3 separate regions of the Homo sapiens genome follow, and all the other regions are linked to region 2. Evidence: promoter capture Hi-C in 16 types of primary human blood cells and fetal thymus (Javierre and others, 2016). All regions are on one chromosome and are shown on one strand. The core of a region is centred on a gene start or on the middle of the fragment in contact, and the rest is flanking DNA. Distances in the headings are between cores, read along the strand shown. Region 1 overlaps VIRMA (vir like m6A methyltransferase associated). Region 2 holds the start of MTDH (metadherin). Region 3 holds the start of PABPC1 (poly(A) binding protein cytoplasmic 1).

Region 1 (3,209 bases), core at 708-3,207, 3.1 Mb before region 2:
ACTAGAGGATTTGGAAAAATATTAATATAAAGACAGCTGTTAATTACAGTGTAAAATACAAAGTAAAAGCTGATTACAATAGGGAGAGATACAGAAAGGAAATTAATTCACTCATCAACAGGAATATACAAATACAATAGCTTTCCACTCATATACTTGTTTACCAAATAACCTTGCTTAAATCTGATTTTAACTTAAACAACTTTTTCTAATATTGTATATGTTAACATTAGAGATATAGTGTGCTTTTTTATATTTTTTTATTATTTATTTATTTATTTTGAGACAGAGTCTCGCTCTGTCGCCCAGGCTGGAGTGCAGTGGCACGATCTAGCCTCACTGCAAGTCCCACCTCCCAGGTTCACGCCATTCTCCTACCTCAGCCTCCTGAGTAGCTGGGACTACAGGCGCATACCATCACGCCTGGCTAATTTTTTTTGTATTTTTAGTAGAGACAGGGTTTCACCAGGTTAGCCAGGATGGTCTCAATCTCCTGACCTCGTGATCCCCCTGCCTCAGCCTCCCAAAGTGCTGGTATTACAGGCATGAGCCACCGCGTTTGCTATGTTGCCCAGGCTGTCCTCCCAACTCCTGGGCTCAAGTGATCCTCCCACTTCAGCCTCCCAGGCTGGGGCTACAGGCACACATGCCACCACACCTGGCTTATCTTGCATTCTTGATTTGTAATGTTAAGTGTTTTTTCATTCACGGGAACACTATTCCCTCACAATCAAATTGTCTTTTAATAAGTTTAACTGCTTATCTTCTGAACTCAGTGGATTGGCCTTATAAATGTGTATCAATTGTTTATGTGGAGAAGAGGAAATTATTGGTAAAACAAATACAATACCAAAAAAAGAGCTGTTAATGGCAGCTGGCAATAAAGATTCCCTGTGTGAAACTAATAAATGTCTCTTCTCTACCATATTACAAATTCCTTTGAAATCAAGGGCAATGGGCTTTGTTCTGACTTGTATTGCCCCTCCTAAAGCCATACCCTCACCTTCAAAAGTGTTTTTCATAAATAATTGTTAAACAGATTCTCAACTTCCTATGGGGCAAATTAATCTGGCTAATTATCCCGTTCCCATCAAACTCACTTCCACACTCTTACCATCATTAGTCCCACTAGTTCTCCTGTCTCTAAAACTAGAATTTTACCATTTTTAACTACCCTATCTCCTTCACATAATCAGTTGCCATCCTGTCAATTCTATACTCGAAATTTGTACATATCCAAAACTTGTATAAATCCTCTCCTACGTAGTTCCACTGGGACACAGCATAGCACTGCCTTAGAGCCAGAAAAATGTATGATGGTGGATCTTAATCTAGCTATGCTATTTTAGGAAAGTCACCTCATCTCTCAGGCTCAGTTTCCTTATCTATAAAATGTAGATGACTACCTTTGAAAACTCAGCGTGGGCCCTGCAGTGGCTCACGCCTGTAATCTTCGCACTTTGGGAGGCTGAGGTGGGAGAATCGCTTGAGCTCAGGAATTCAAGACCAGCCTGGGAAACATGGCAAAACACCGTCTCTACAAAAAAATATGAAAATCAGCCAGGCGTGTTGGTGCACAACTGTAGTCCCAGCTACTCGGGAGGCTGAGATGGAAGGATCGATTGAGCCCTGGTGGGAGAAATTGCAGTGAGCTGTGATCGCACCAGTGCACTCCAGCTTGGGTGACAGAGCAAGACCTAGTCTTAAAAAAAAAAAAAAAAACTGATGGAAGGACCAGAGATGATTTACTTAAGTTATCAAAGCCCACTGTGTCTGGCACAAATTAAGCATTCAATAAATGTTAAACAATGCTTACTGCCCATTGGCTAACTCAGGTTTTCATAACATCTCACTTTTTCTCTCTGATTTTGTCACCTCACCTCTATTTTCTCTGAACCATTTTTTTTTTTTTTCTTTTTGAGACGGAGTCTCGCTCTGTCACCCAGGCTGGAGTGCAGTGGCACAATCTCGGCTCACTGCAAGCTCTGCCTCCCGGGTTCACGCCATTCTCCGGCCTCAGCCTCCTGAGTAGCTGGGACTACAGGCACCTGCCACCACGCTCGGCTATTTGTTTGTATTTTTAGTAGAGACAGGGTTTCACCATGTTAGCCAGGATGGTCTCGATCTCCTGACCTCGTGATCCGCTTGCCTCGGCCTCCCAAAGTGCTGGGATTACAGGCATGAGCCACGGCGCCTGGCCTTCTCTGAACCATTTTAAGTATTATTGATCAAGTAATCTATCTAATGTATCTTACTAATTGTATGATTCGCCTGCTCAAAAACTACCCATTTCCTACAAAATAAAGTCCATAATTTTTATTTATTTATGTATTTATTTATTTTAAAAGACAGAGTCTTGCTCTGTCGCACAGGCTGGAGTGCAGTGGCGTGATCTTGGCTCACAGCAACCTCCTCCTCCCGGGTGCTAGCAATTCTCCTGCCTCAGCCTTCCGAGTAGCTGGGACTATAGACGCACACCGCCACGCCCAGCTAATTTTTTGTATTTTAGTAGAGACGGGGTTTCACTGTGTTACCCAGGCTGGTGTCGAACTCCTGACGTCAGGCAATCCACCCACCTCAGCCTCACCAAAGTGCCGGGATTACAGGCGTGAGCCACTGCGCCTGGCCTAAAGTCTGTAATTCTTTGTCGAGCATTCAAGGAGCTCCATGATCTGTCTTTGAATTGCCTTGGGTGCCACTTCACACTGCTACTTCAAGCATACCCTAACAGACGACTGACTACCCCAGTAGAATGCCCTCCTTTCCTAACTACAACTGTGAAATATTGCCCCTTTCACCAAAGACCAAGTTCATAAGCCAAACACCTTGATGAAGTCTTTCCTGATACACTCAAATGAAAAGTTATCTCTGCCTCTTCTGAAATCTTGTATCTTTTATTTATACCCACAAAGGGAGCTAGTTCTAATACGTCAGATACTGATGGGCATTTTGTAAACTAAGATGATAAACCCCAACGAATTCACACTGTGCTTCTTTATGTGATCATCACATTCTAACTCAAATCACAATTTTGTGAATCTAATCTCCAATACTGAGTTATAACTTCTTGAAAACAAACATTTCAATATTTCGTATCACCCACAAACCCCTACTTCCTCCTTCAAGACTTGATTTAAATGTGATCTCTGCTAAGCCTTCCCCAATCACCCCAGAAGAAAGCATTTACCATCTGCCCTATGCTCTCAAGG
Region 2 (3,295 bases), core at 659-3,158:
GCCTCAGCCACCTGAGTAGCTGGGATTACAGGCGTGAGCCACAGCACCAGCCATTATTGTAATAGTTTAATTTGAAAATTCACAGGTGGGCCGGGAGCGGTGGCTCACGCCTGTAATCCCAGCACTTTGGGAGGCCCATGCGCGCGGATCACGAAGTCAGGGCGACTGCAGCCTCGGCAACACAGCGAGACTCCATCTCAAAAAATAAAAAATAAAAAATTCACAGATGTTTATCTAGAATGGTCAGAATAGTCAGTGGAACTTCTTAGGAAAATCATGACCCTTCACATCTCTAGAACCAAAACACGTGCAGAAATCTTATTTCACAAATATAAATGGAATTTGGAAACTTTGAGTTAAAGCAGATCCCAATAACATTTGCTAAGTTTTTGGCCTCCTAATTTAATTTAGTCTTTAATCATAAGTCTTGGCAAGTGTAGTATGCTTTTATTATTTATTATTTACAAAACTCCCTTCCACACATGAATCACAATATGCATTACGACACTGTTGCAAAATAGGTCAAAATACATTTTTGGTATTTGGTGGTTATTAATATTACCCCTGCTGTATTCCTTGAGAAAGCCTGTATTTAGTTCACTTAAGACAGTTGCTTACACGCTAATGATCATTTACCGATAAAATACAGAGTTTCCTTATAGCAAAATATAATCTTAAAACCCTAAGGCAGCCTTCAAGCATTTCCCTTATAATTAAAACCTGAAGGCCTGGCGTGGTGGCTCACGCCTGTAATCCCAGCACTTTGGGAGGCTGAGGTGGGCGGATCACGAGGTCAGGAGATCAAGACCATCCTGGCTAACACGGTGAAACCCCGTCTCTACTAAAAATACAAAAAATTAGCCGGGCGTGGTGGTGGGTGCCTATAGTCCCAGCTGCTCGGGAGGCTGAGGCAGGAGAATGGCTTGAACCCAGGAGGCGGACCTTGCAGTGAGCGGAGATAGTGCCACTGCACTCCAGCCCGGGCGACAGAGCGAGACTCTTGTCTCAAAAAAAAAAAATTTGAAAAGGCAGTTCGTTTCCTTCTATAGCTGCATCCCAGAGATGGTCAACATAGCATATAAAAATGGAATTTTTGCAAACCCCTTTTGCAGTGTTGTAGAAAAGCTTAAAATAAAACGTAACGAGAAAGCTCCCTCCATAAGTAAATACAATCTAATGTGCTTCCCCTTATGTGTTATTAAAGCTACAAATTAGTAGGAAAAGAATAGTGCCGCCCACGGGCTTTCCAACTTTTGAATTCTGGGGACTAACAACAGAGAGCAAGAGTGAATGAGCCAAACGACGCAAACGTGCCCTCGCCAGGCTGGCAACTGGTAGGCACGCAGTGTATTAGTTGCCCTGGAGAGAAACACCCTGGAGAGAAATACCCAATTTGTGAACTAAACCTAGGTCCCGGAAGAACAGTGTTCGGCGTCAGACTCCGTTGAGCTCATTCTGGAAGGATCCAACTGGCGCCACCAGGGAGAAAAAGCGATTCCACCTCAATAACACTCCAGAAAAAGGCATGAAGAGCCCTATACCTGCCAGGGCGACTTTGACCTAGACCCGGTGACCCGGTTCCTAGCGCTGCAGCCCTACCCGCCCCCCGCCCGCCCCCGCCTTGCACGGAGCCCCTCCTCTGTACTCATTCGTTGCGCCACGTCTCCTAACTCTGCGCCACCAGCCACCCCGCGAAGGCGTCCACCAATTAACCCCTCCCAGCTTCTGGTCTACAGTAACGGGTCCCCAACGCCGCGTCTTAACCAGGCCCGAACCGACCACCGCCAACCTTCCCTGACACGCCTTTGCCCCACCCGACCCCGCCCGCCCCCACGTGACGCCCACGCCCCGCCCACTGGCGCCCACGTGACCCACGGTCGTCCCCGCGCGCGGCGTGGATCGCGGCCCAAGCCGCCATTGTTCCGCCGAGGGAGGACAGCGGGGCCTGGCGCTGGCGCCGAGACGCCGCTTAGCGGCCGCCACTGGAGACACTCCCTCCCGCCTCCCGGGTCTCCTGGCGGCGGCGGAGTGAGGCTGACAGCGGGGAACCTGGGAGACCCCTCCGCCCTCCCCGCGGTGGCAGCGGCCGATCCCCGGCTCCGGCGCGAGGGACGGCCGCGATGCGCTCGGCCTGAGGTTACCCGGCCCGGCCCTTCCTCGCTTCCCTCGACTATTCCACTGCGTCTCCGCGCCCCGGCGTCATCCTGCGAGTCCCTCTGACGGGAGGGAAGATGGCTGCACGGAGCTGGCAGGACGAGCTGGCCCAGCAGGCCGAGGAGGGCTCGGCCCGGCTGCGGGAAATGCTCTCGGTCGGCCTAGGCTTTCTGCGCACCGAGCTGGGCCTCGACCTGGGGCTGGAGCCGAAACGGTACCCCGGCTGGGTGATCCTGGTGGGCACTGGCGCGCTCGGGCTGCTGCTGCTGTTTCTGCTGGGCTACGGCTGGGCCGCGGCTTGCGCCGGCGCCCGCAAAAAGCGGAGGAGCCCGCCCCGCAAGCGGGAGGAGGCGGCGGCCGTGCCGGCCGCGGCCCCCGACGACCTGGCCTTGCTGAAGAATCTCCGGAGCGAGGAACAGAAGAAGAAGAACCGGAAGAAACTGTCCGAGAAGCCCAAAGTGAGTATGGGATGAGCGGCAGTAGAGAACGGGCGAAGGGCGGGCGTGGAGACCCTCGAGCTTGGGGGAGGCCGCGCCCCAGCCGGGAAGGAAAAGAGTGCTTAGTCGAAAGCCGAGAGGCAGCACTCCCAAGTGGAGGAGGAGGTGATAGGTGGTCATGTTATTTGGGGAATGGGGGGAACTCAGGAAGTATAGGACGAGTGGGGAAGCCCAGTTTCGAGGAAGGAAGTTAGGAGGTCTGGGGGTCCGTTCAGATAGGCGCCCAGAGGTCAAGCCATCTTTGGGAACCGTCACCGCTAGAATAAGCACAGCATCCTTCCTTGAGGCCTGCAGAGTAGGCTGCATGTGGAGCGTAATGGGACCTTAAGGTGGTGTTAGGAAGTTGTATAAAGACTGCGCTCGGAAGACAGATGTCTATCTCAAGTCACATTGAGACAGTAGGCAGTGGAAGAAGTGCGGTGACCTAGAAATTCTGGGGCTTACACAGGATTAAAGGTGTCCAGGTCTAGACGCGCTTCCATTTTAGTTGGGACTGTTAAAGGGAAATGGTTGCCCATTCTTGTTCTGGCAAATGTGGCCAACAGAGGCCGGAACGGGAGCAAGGCAAGAGGGGGTCGGTTACCTAATACGCTTTGAGGTGTATGGTCCTGTGAGAAAGAGCTAAGGCGAGTTCAACGAACGAG
Region 3 (3,349 bases), core at 533-3,032, 3.1 Mb after region 2:
AAATAAAAGCACAAAGTTAGCTGCATTTCCCCCATAAATTTCAAGCTCAATTTAATCTCCGTTATTTTGTACTCAGTCATTTCCCAAGATTTACAGGTATCATGGGCCACTTTTAAAAATAAAAGAGAAACTTGAACTTCTTGCATGCTACAGATAAGACTGGTCCAGTTGGAATTACACTAAAGTAACATTTTATAGCCAAAGTTGACTATTTTATAAAGAAAAGCCCCTCAAAACGACAGGAACTATTTCAGAAGGTAACATAATATACTCGAAAACCACCAGTACTGTGAATCTAAGATAAAATTTGACTAAAAATGGTCTAAGTTGCCTGAGAAAACTGGCCTTCAAAGTGGTCGGCTGCCACATCCCCTCCTCCCACTCTGCCCTTTTAATGTTAGAGAAATGCTTGATCTAGGGGAAACCCCAAATGCATGTCTCCGGTAAATTCCATTCCTAGATCCATCAGTCACTGATGAGTTCTGGGAAGTGGACTCACAAGCCTGAGGACCACCACCACACCACACATCGCCACAGGAACTTTATCCTAAGGCCTGGTGGCTCCCCCAGGCGACTGGGCCAGGAGCAGGAGCAGAAGCAGGCCTCGGGCCTGCGAGGTTACAGGGTTCAACACGTGGTATTTTTCGAGCACAGAACTGCACTTCCTCCCCAGGCTGGGGCGCCGGCAGGAGCTCCGGGTGGTGGGAGCGCCTCCACCTCTTACCCACGGAAGGAGCTCAGCGTTCAACGCCCCAGAATCCCGGGGCCACTGGCGGGAGCGCCGCGGAGGAACCGAATCTCACCCACCCTCCCGGCGCGTCATCACCCTAAAGTTTGAGAGCGTCTGAGGCCGAGAAAATGGTCGCAAAGGAGGAAGTAGCCGGGCGTGTGGCTGCCGGCAGCGCGGGTCCCCGCCGGCTCGGGAAACGCGGCTCCAGGGACCCCGGCGCCTTCCCGCCGGCCGTCGCGGGGTGACATGCCCTCCCGCCCCCCTCCCCGGGCCCGCCGGCCTACCCCGCCCGCCGCCGCCGCCCGAGCCTCATGGCCGCCCGCCCGCCCGGCCGACCGCGGAGCCCGGCGCTCACCGTCCGCCGGCTGCTGGAAGTTCACATACGCGTAGCCCAAGGAGCGGCGGGTGATCATGTCCCTGCAGACCCGGATGGAGAGGATGGGCCCGGCCGGGCTGAACTTCTCGTAGAGCATCGCCTCGGTCACGTCGGGGTGGAGGTCCCCCACGTAGAGCGAGGCCATGGGGTAGCTGGGGGCACTGGGGTTCATCTCGGCACGGCTGCCCGCAGGGCCACAGGCCGCGACCTTTCCGTGAGAGGAGGAGAGCGAGTGCCGGGGCTGGGGGCCGGAGCCGGGGGGAGGGGAGCGGGGAGCAAGCGCAGAGGGACAAAAATCAACCGGAATTGAAAACTACTCAACGGCCGCAGAACGGGGTCGATCCACTGCCGCTGGCTGCCGGCTGCCGGCGGGGAGCGAGGGTGGCGGTGTCGGGTCCGGGCAGCGGGAAGGCCTCGGTCTCTTGGTTCCTTCTTGGAGCTGCTGCGGGGCCGCGGGCGGGCGGGTCGGTCTCGGCTGCTTCACCGGGTTATTTTATAAAAGAGGAAGAAAAAAAATAAAAGTCTCCGGCGGGGGAGACGCGGATTTTTTGTAAATTTTTTTGGGGTTTTTTAAAAGATTTTTTTAGATTTTTTTTGGATTTTTTAATAATAAATGTGTGTTCCGAGCCCGGAGCACACACTCCGCACTCTCAGCACTAACCGCCGGGGAGAAGGGGAAGCACCGCCTCCTGCACCCTCTACTTATACCCCGCGCCGCACTCGCCCCGCCCCCGCGCGTCTGACGCCAGGGCCCCTACGCGAGCGTCAGCGCCGGAGTAGGAGGAGACGCGGAGGCCAGGGGGAGGAGGGAAGAGAAAACAGGAGGAAAGAGCAGAGAGGAAGGGAGAGGTGGCGGCGGTGGAGGCTGCGGTGTGGGGGTGGGGCTCGGGCGAAGGGGCGGGGCTTTTGCGCAGGCGCCGCGGCCGGGGAAGCGGAGCCCGCGCTGCGTCGCGTCCGTGGGGGTGGGGAGGACGGCTCGCGGGCGGTCCTCGGGGGTGTTGGCTGAGGCGTCCCCGCCTTCCGCCCCGCCCGCCCCTGCCTCCACCAGGAGGAGCGTTAACCCGTCACCGCGGCGGTGGGCGGTGCAAAGGGCTTCCGGGTTCCTCCGCGCTAACCACCCCCCACGTGCGCGGCCGCCTGTGGCCTCTTCCCGCTGCGGCCGGCCCGGCTCCTCTAGCCCCAGCTCCGGGGGACGCCGGGCACGGGTGAGCGGGCGTGGTCCCCTCCGGGCCCGGTTTCCGAAACGTGCGTAGATGGAGCCAGCGTGGCCCCCTGCTCTCTCCTACCCGGACCGCACTACGAGTCCCAGCCGGCACCGCCGCCACGCGCGTCGGCCGCAGAAGCGGTGCCTGCTGGGAGCTGGAGTCCCCAACGGCCGCGGCGCTCGCTGACACCAACTGGCTGCGCGGGTCCTGGCCGCCCGCTCCGGGACCCCCCAACCGTCCTGCGCGCTGGACCCCGGCACCGCTGGAGCTCCCGGCGCGGGGTTGGGGGGCAGGGAGAGAGAGGGGAGGGCCCCTCGGGTTCCTCGTCCTCTTCTTTTCCAGCCCGACCCTCCTCCGTGTCTTCACTGGACGTTGTCGTTGGTCAAAGTGGCTTTAATTTGGGATAGCTGTGTTGGGGGTCTTTGGTCACTTCTTACCTTAAGGTGCTAGGCTGGAATCATTGATTTGTGCTGCTTCTGCCAGACATTTCTTGGCGATAGAAACCAGGAGTGGAGAAAAGTGAATGTTTTTCCTGAAAGTACGGGTTTGTCACAATCACTACTATATGGCACCACAGCCCTGCAACCAGACAAAATTAGGAATAGTCTAAAACAACGTCCTTATAAATAACTAAAACAATTCTGCACATTAGTAGTGGGTTTTAATAGGAATGCTAAATTTAACGAATTGATAGTAATAAAAACCGGCTCTAGGAATGACATTAAATCAACATACAAATTCCACTCGAAAGTAGTAAAGTGCTTTTACAGTTTTTAAAGCACTCGCGTAAACATACTATCATTTGTTCCTGAGAGCAATCTGGTGTGGGAGGTGGAGCAAGTAGTAATAATTTTACTTTACTGTTACAGGAACAGTCTCAAAGAAGTTAAATGATTGCCCAATTTATTCCTTAATTCAATAAACTTTAATGGATGTCAACTGTATTGCTAGGTGTGGAATTAAGTACTTTATATCTTGTCTCATTTAATTAGAATTTAAACCAGTGGAATCCCACATAAATACTATTTTGCTCCTATT

Evidence for each region. The method cuts DNA at HindIII sites, captures the fragments that hold promoters and counts their contacts. A CHiCAGO score of 5 or more calls a contact.
Region 1: a fragment that was not itself captured here is called in contact with the fragment with the promoter of MTDH in region 2 in 2 of 17 cell types (total B cells and naive CD8 T cells); the score reaches 9.7 in total B cells.
Region 3: a contact is called between the fragment with the promoter of PABPC1 here and the fragment with the promoter of MTDH in region 2, in 1 of 17 cell types (total B cells). The highest score is 5.5, in total B cells.

What each region holds. Positions count from the first base shown.
Region 1 is chr8:94,548,392-94,551,600 of GRCh38, forward strand. The region is part of intron 1 of VIRMA (vir like m6A methyltransferase associated); the gene reads right to left. Among named protein-coding and RNA genes, the nearest start is that of VIRMA, 3.5 kb to the right of the region's middle. The HindIII fragment of the contact is 4,218 bases long and covers 1-3,209 here.
Region 2 is chr8:97,642,276-97,645,570 of GRCh38, forward strand. It overlaps MTDH (metadherin), which reads left to right and starts at 1,909. Exons shown (of 12, transcript NM_178812.4): 1 at 1,909-2,612. The coding sequence starts at 2,232. RefSeq lists silencers at 1,497-1,606, 1,787-2,246, 2,517-2,586, 2,870-3,038 and enhancers at 1,759-2,739, 2,740-3,295. The HindIII fragment of the contact is 3,502 bases long and covers 1,124-3,295 here.
Region 3 is chr8:100,720,306-100,723,654 of GRCh38, forward strand. It overlaps PABPC1 (poly(A) binding protein cytoplasmic 1), which reads right to left and starts at 1,783. Exons shown (of 15, transcript NM_002568.4): 1 at 1,086-1,783. The coding sequence starts at 1,278. RefSeq lists silencers at 960-1,069, 1,750-1,829, 1,910-2,619 and enhancers at 1,022-1,854, 1,909-2,409, 2,410-2,910. The HindIII fragment of the contact is 6,173 bases long and covers 1-3,349 here.